Regions from separate parts of the Homo sapiens genome. Here region 2 is linked to region 1. The links are contacts of gene promoters, found by promoter capture Hi-C in blood cells and fetal thymus (Javierre and others, 2016). All regions are on one chromosome and are shown on one strand. Each heading gives the region's core, a stretch centred on a gene start or on the middle of the fragment in contact. The rest is flanking DNA. Distances are from core to core; before and after follow the strand shown. Region 1 holds the start of LGR6 (leucine rich repeat containing G protein-coupled receptor 6). Region 2 overlaps SYT2 (synaptotagmin 2).

Region 1 (3,766 bases), core at 883-3,382:
ATGGATGGTAGGATGCTTGAATTCCAAAGGTGACAGTGTACCTCCTTCCCCAAGTCCTTCTAGAAAAAGGGTCATTAACCAGTCTAGGAAGACTTAATGCTGGGAAAGGAAGCTCTGGAAGGCCTTATCTCCCCTGCCCCTTCAACCCAGGCAAGGGACCTTCCTTCAGCTCACCCAGAGAAAGGCTCCACAGAAGTCACATCTAAACTCTTTAGCCACAGGACCCTGTCTTCAAATGAACCAATGTCACATACTCCCAGGATAGAAAACTGCTGAAAGAGGGGCTGGCCTGTGTGTAGGGTGGGGCCGGAGCCTGCCCTGCTTTGCCAGATGCTGAGCGCCCAGGCTCTGTGCAGTTGGTACCTTTATTCCCATGATTGCCTCTGCCGTCACCTACTGCACTGTGAAGGATTCCATTTGTCCTTCTAGATGGACATTATTTTTCTCTTCCCACTCCCTTACCTGGCCCACAGCCTGTGCCTTTTGGAGTGGAGGGGGACATCCCAACCTGGGGACAGGGACATTTGGAGAGGAGCCCCATGAAGAGTTGCCCTCTGGGACCCTCTACCTCCCACCAGGACACTCCCAACACTGAGCATCTTTAGTTCCACAAATTCTTGCTAGGCCCCTATAAAGATTCACCCAGCCTCCTCTTCCTCTAAGCTCCCATGTGCTGGAACCCCAAAGCCATAAGGAGCCTCTCTCAGGCCAGAAGGAACTCTGGGATCCTAGCCCTCAGCAGAAGGCCCCACCAGGCTTTCCCACCTGCTCCCAGCTCCTCTGAGGAAGTTGATAGAGCCTGCAGAGCTGGGCTGGAGGAGGTTTCCTTGCCCCAGAGCGGGGCTGGGGGTGCAGGTGGGTGGCCTGGAATGTGCTCTCTCACCCTCCTCCTGCCCAGGTGGTGAGCAGCCAGAGCCCCCAGCCCTCCAGCTCTGAGGGGAAGCTCCCATGAGCCAGACAGACAGGACAGCTGCCCCCAGTAGGGTCCCCTTCACGCGCCATCTCACCCCAACTCAGACGCTAAAAATGGTTCTCTGGTTTTCAGCCTCGGCGCCTGCCCACAAATTAGTGTCTCCAACACAGCCTCTTGGGACATGACTTTAGGGAGGCCCCTGGGGGAGCCAGGAGGCCCCAGTGAAGGGAGATGGTGCTGGCAGAGTCCCTTTCTGAGGAGACAAGAGTGGATAAGGCCCCCCTCCCAGCTTCTAGGAAACCCGCCCCCCCCGCCCCCACGAAGGCCACCCAGCCTCAGTGTGACAGCCCTGTTGTCCTCACCATGGCAGAAGAACAGACATTATTTCCACCCTACTGGGGCACGCTCCCCTCACCTCCACCTCCAGTTCTGTCAGCTTTACCCTCAGCCACCATCCCGGGCACTGCTCTGCTAGAAGAGAATGCAGCAACAGGAGATGGAGCAGCCAGCCCCGCGCCCTCCCGCTCAGGGTCCAGAACCCACCTCGCCAAGCCTGGGCTCCCATAGTCAGCCCACAAGCACGGAGGCCAATGGGGAAGCCAAGTCAGGGAAGCCCGGTCTCCCTGCTCGCCTGGTATTTAGTCTCAGACTCTTCTCCCCTCCCCAGTCCCGCAACGGTCAACTTGGAAGGGGGCAAACCCTCTCCGGGATGCCCATGCCCCAGGGCACCAAGCAAGCAGGTGCCCTGCTGAGGCCGGGACTGGGCGCTAGCCAGCAGCCCGCAGGACCAGGCGGGGACAGGCGGGCAGTACTCACAGGTAAGCCGTCAGGGGGTCCAGGTCCCCCGGAACGGCGGACAGCCCGAGCTCAGAGCAGTCGGCAGACAGCATGATGCCGTCCTCCTGGCAGTGGCAGGGGGCCGGGCAGGCGGTGGGCCCCGGGCCGGGCTGGGGGGCGCCGCCGGCCCTCCGGGAAGCGCACAGCGCGGCGCAAAGCCATAGCGCCCGGAGCCCCGGCGGGCTGGGCATCTCGGCGGTCGGGCTACTGGGGCACCTGGCGGCCGGGCGCGGACGCACGGCGCGATGGCCGCAGCTGCTTCCTCCCGGTCCCGGCGGGCTGCACCGTCGGTGGGGACCGCCCCAGGGGCTCTATTGGGCGGCGGCGGCGGCGGTGGGAGCGCCGGGACGGTGCAGTCAGAGAGGGGCAGGCATTGTTGAGTGATCTTCGTTATTCAGTTTCACAGGCTGGGCTTGGCAAGGGAGGGAGACCCAGCCGGAGGAGGAGTCAAGGAAACTTTCTACACTGCGGCTCGCTCCTCTTCCCTCCTTCCTTCGGAGCTGGCAGGAATTTCATCCAGGAAAGAAAAAAAAAAAAGGAAGAAAGCAAAGAAACCCAAGCGAGCAAAGCTCAGCCCGTCAGAGACCTGCATTTGTTTGGATAGGGTGTCCCAGGGCCTTGGCCGCAGGGCTGGGGACCCTCTTGCCTTTGGGGACAGCCACGAGGTCACATGGGACCCAGAGGAGGTCTCTGAAAGAGGCCTTGGGGCTCCCATTGCCCCTCATGCCTCCACCACGTTTCACACTGCAGGAAACTGAGACCCAAGAGGCAAAATGATTTGTTCAAGGTGACACAGCTGATGGGACATCCCCAGAGCTGGAACTCGTCCACCCTCCCTGGCCTGTCTGCTAGGACAGGAGAGAGGGGAGTGAGGGGCTACCCTGGAAGAGGCCAGGCTGCGGAGGGTTCCACTGCAGGCTGGGATGACCCGACGGTGGGCAACCAGGAGCAGTCTCCTCACTGAGAGGCCGGGCCTTGACTCCAAAGAAACGGGTGTGGAGTTACACCCGCTGAGTGCACCCTGGGTGGAAATGCACTCCTGCAGCCTCTGTCAGGTTTACGGCCTGGGGACCACCTTGATCCCTGCTCCCAGGACCTCGGGAGTCTGAGGGACTGTGGGCAGCTCAGCTGGTTGTCAGAGCCCACCTCAAAGTAAGCGGATTGGTGCCACCTGGAGGCCGGGTGCTGCACCTGCAGCTCAGCCACCCTGAGGCTGGAATCCCACCAAGTGGCTGACCTGGGCCGGCCCCAGAGCCCTGGAGAGCAAAGGGCATGGTGGTTAAAACTGAGGTCAATCCCTGTTCTCTCCTTAGACCATAGTGAGCTGGCTGTGCTTCCTTCATGCAGCCTCTTGCTCTCTCTGGTCTCTCCCATGCTGAGCCAAGCCCCCGCGCAGAGCTAGAGCAGGCTGTGGGCCCCCCTCCTTCCTTTTTTTGCCCTATCTCCCCATGGTCCAGCCAGAGGGTATACTAGAAACCTGGGACCTCAGAGGCATCCAGGATTTCTTCCACCCTGTCTTTCCACATGCCAGGATCCTCTCATCAACACCTCTCCACTCTCCCAATAACCTCCCAGGGCTAGAGGGGCTGCATAGCTGGACCAAGAAATGAGCAGACCTTGACCCTAGGCCTCCAGTTGGTGCCATGGCGCTGAAAGTAGAAGACGAGCCTCCGCTCTCGCTCTCCCTCTCCCTCTCCCCTCTTTCCACGGTCTCCCTCTGATGCCGAGCCGAAGCTGGACTGTACTGCTGCCATCTCGGCTCACTGCAACCTCCCTGCCTGATTCTCCTGCCTCAGCCTGCCGAGTGCCTGCAATTGCAGGCGCATGCCGCCACGCCTGACTGGTTTTCGTATTTTTTGGGTGGAGACGGGGTTTCGCTGTGTTGGCCAGGCTGGTCTCCAGCTCCTAACTGCGAGTGATCCGCCAGCCTCGGCCTCCCGAGGTGCCGGGATTGCAGACGGAGTCTCCTTCACTCAGTGCTCAATGGTGCCCAGGCTGGAGTGCAGTGGCGTGATC
Region 2 (3,766 bases), core at 878-3,377, 480 kb before region 1:
GAATTGAATGAGGGTCTGCATGCTAGGTGTTGTAAGATATGCAAACAGACAGACAGATACCCATGGATGGGGAGAAGGTTTGTAAGCTGAGTAGAGGAGTTCAGAGAGGGTGGGAAAGGATGGATGTTGAGCTAAGAGCTGGCTTTGGGAAGGATTCTCTGCCCCATGGGCTCCTCCAGGCCAGGATGGCATCTCATCTATTTCCTTGTCCCCAACTCCCTGGAGGGCACCTGGTTCAATAAATGTGGTTGAATGTGGGAAGTGGGACTTGAGCAGACTCTGAATTGGGTGGGGGGAAGGGAGGAAGATGGGCATTCTGTAGTTAGGACCACAGCCTGCGTACCCTGGGCTGGAGCAACAGTGAGACATCCAACTGGCTGCAGGGGTGGAAAGGCGGTGGCCTTAGTGAGACTGGCCTTTGAAGTGAGTTGGGTTGGGATTGAACCTGGCTTGTCAATTACTAGTGAGATGACTAGAAGGACAAGTTATCAGTTTCCTCATCTGTAAAATAGACATAGTAACGCCTGCCTAAACTGGCTGTGAGGATTAAATGGAAAGATGCAAAGTGTTTAGCACAGTGTAATGCACCTAACACATGGTAAATGCTCAAAAGAGGTTAGGAATGATTACTATTCAAGCTAGGGTCAGATGACAGGTGGCTTGACCCTAAGCTGGAGAGCTTTAATTTGGTCCTCTAGGTGTTGTTTCAGGATTATTAGCCTGGCTGCTTGGACCGGTTAGAGGAAATGGGGTAAGGTGGAAGGGAACCAGCCAGCAGATCATGTGAGAAATCCATTTGGGTATCAGTGAATGAGTATGTCCCATTCTTGAGGACTGGGATTCTTCCTGCTCGGTGTCCAGGACCTCTAGTGATAACATTTGCAAGTGCACATATCCACATGTGGGTTAGAAACAGAAAAGCCCAGCCTTTCCCTGAGTCCCTGAAGATCTCAGAGTGACTCCAGCCCCTTGGGAAAGACTTTGCTGAGCTCCCAACTCAACTGTGGTCCCTGGTCAAATACTTTCATGGCTGTCTATGCTTTGCATTAATAGTCTTCACATAATTTTCAATTGTGTATATATATTATATAATTATTATAATATATATTAATTATATATATAATTATTTAGTGTGTGTCTCTCCCACAAGACTGTAAGCTCAATGAGAGCAGGGCCTATTAGTGTGTTTGGCACACACTTACTTGAAAGTAATTTGTTAAATGAATGACTGCACGTTAAATATATGGTCATACAGACTCATTCATGTGCCCAACGTGCTCAGTATTCACCACATCTTATTTTTCCTTAGTAGACATCCTAGTGCACATATGCAGACATCATATGGTCACACATACACAGTCCTCATTCAACAGTTAACTACTGGGCCCTCCTGTGCACCCAGCACTGTTCAGGGGATGCTGTAATAAACAAGAAAGCCATGGCCCTCTCTGAGCACCTGGCATTTTCTTGGGAGGCATGGACAGACAATAAACAAGGTGAGTTCTGAACAAGATAACTTCAGATGGTAGTAAGTGCTCTGAAGGAGGCGAAGCAGGCTGAGATCATGACATTGAGATTATTGGGGTGGTGCTCAGGGCAGAGCATGCTGGGCAGTGGGGGAGGGGGCCGGCCAGTCTGAGGGTGTCTGGAGGGGACATGTGGGAGGCCAGTGTGACCAGAGCAGTGTGTGAAGGTGAGAGAGCAGAGCTGCGGCCAGTGAAGTGGGAGGCCTGGACTGCTGAGGTCAGATTAAACAGTAGGGGTTTCATACCAAGTGCAATGGGAGTCCTTGGAAAATTTTAAGCTGAGGAGAGATGATTTGGTTTACCATTTGAAAAGAATCCTTAGGCTGGTAACAGATCATACTCCCATCAGTTATACAGATATGGATGAGTGATTGAACACACATAATCTCACTAAGTACTTGCAGCCATTTATCAAAGCTCATATTTCTATATTCACACATGTGTACATATCACATCATATTACACAGACTTTCACATCCTTCCACACAGATGTTCATATGCTCAGATGGACCATGCTAACACTGGGGTATATGCATAATTAAAAACACCTAGGCCAGGCGCGGTGGCTCATGCCTGTAATCCCAGCACTTTGGGAAGCTGAGGTGGGCGGATTAACTGAGGTCAGGAGTTCGAGACCAGCCTGGCCAATATGGCAAAACCCTGCCTCTGCTAAAAATACAAAAATTAGCTGCACGTGGTGGTACACGCCTGTAATCCCAGCTACTCAGGAGGCTGAGGCACGAGAATTGCTTGAACCCAGGAGGCGGAGGTTGCAGCGACACAAGATCACACCACCGCACTCCAGCCCAGGTGACAGAGTGAGACTCTGTCTCAAAAAATAAAATAAAACAAATAAATATACCTGTGCTCTCCCATTGTTCAGAAATTCACACACATACCCACACAAGAATACTCACACATTAAAAAAAATACACATTAACCTGCCACATAGACCTTCATGTATTACACACAAATATCACATGTATGTAACGGCAGGTTCCCATATCCACTCCTACCCAGAACCAGCCAACTGTCACTGCCCATCAGCCAGGCAATCTCATTCAGGCTTCTAATGGCAAATGAGATCAGAACTCTGTGAGGAATTGTCTTCTCTGTTGAGCATAAATGTGCTAAATAAATCTCCCTGCCTCGAATAAATCTTGTACAGATGTAGAAAATGCATTAAAGGCTGAGAAACTAGAGGTGGCTGGAGACAGCCATGGGAACAGAGTAGTAAATCTGCAAGGGGTGTGCCGGCAGCTGGGGCTGTCCAGGGCAAGGAAAGGAGCTGGGTGTGCGGGCAAGTCTTCCTGGAGGTCACCCCAAGGTAACTATGGCCTCATTCCCTGGGTAATGTGTCCCTTCAACTGGAGCTGTTGGGACCTAAGGATGTGGGTGAGCATCGATCTTCGTGACACAGAAACATCCATCTCATTGGATCCATTCAGGGAGGAAAAGTACTTGTTGAGTCAAAACTCACTCCAAACTTTTCAGAGTATGGACACAGAACATTGATACATTTTTGGTTTGTTTGGGCCTGATTTAGATGTGAATTACTGATTCTTTCCTGCAATGTAACTGAGGGTCCAGGCCCATGATTTTATTATATCGTTGGGTCCATTTTCACGTACCTTTTAACTTACATGTTCCAACGCTGAAGCTGACCTGCCACACAGGGTCTTGCTGTTTATTCTAGAAGACTTAATAGTACTTATAGTTCAGACATTTTCCCCTTTTCAGATGATTTATTAAAATGTTCAGTAAACCCAAGCCCACCATCTACACTTGGAGGATGGCTAATATGTTATTTTCTTTTGTTTCCCATCTCCAAGATTTTCTTATAACACCATCCATAAGCCCAGATTTCTGGGCAAGAAATGAAAAATATTTTCATTTAGTTTACACACTAGCAAACGTTTGGATATTGTGAGACAGCTGGAGCCTGTACTGCCCTCCCAGCTGCTAGTTTGGTTATTTCGGCTCTACATTTTTAAGACTTTTTCTTTAGTTTTCTGCAGTTTTCCTGTGATATGTCTAGACATGACTTTCTTTTTATTTTTTGCTGCTTGGGATTTGTTGGGTTTCTTGAATCTGTGGATTGATATATTTTATCAGGTCTGGGTATCTTCTGCCTTTCTCTCCTCAAGTGTTGCCTTAGCCTCTCTCTCTCTCTCCCTCCCTCCCTCTCTCATTTCCCACCTGTAATTCCAATGAAATGTCTGTTTTCTTCTCATCCTCTT

What was found. Contacts are between HindIII fragments. The CHiCAGO score rates a contact against its expected background, and 5 or more counts as called.
Region 2: a contact is called between a fragment that was not itself captured here and the fragment with the promoter of LGR6 in region 1, in 3 of 17 cell types (M0 macrophages, M1 macrophages and M2 macrophages). The highest score is 7.8, in M0 macrophages.

What each region holds. Positions count from the first base shown.
Region 1 is chr1:202,192,165-202,195,930 of GRCh38, reverse strand. LGR6 (leucine rich repeat containing G protein-coupled receptor 6) reads right to left here and starts at 2,132. Exons shown (of 18, transcript NM_001017403.2): 1 at 1,730-2,132. The coding sequence starts at 1,941. RefSeq lists enhancers at 2,999-3,048, 2,743-3,546. The HindIII fragment of the contact is 23,199 bases long and covers 1-3,766 here.
Region 2 is chr1:202,672,713-202,676,478 of GRCh38, reverse strand. All of the region lies in intron 1 of SYT2 (synaptotagmin 2), which reads left to right. Among named protein-coding and RNA genes, the nearest start is that of SYT2, 36 kb to the left of the region's middle. The HindIII fragment of the contact is 4,323 bases long and covers 1-3,766 here.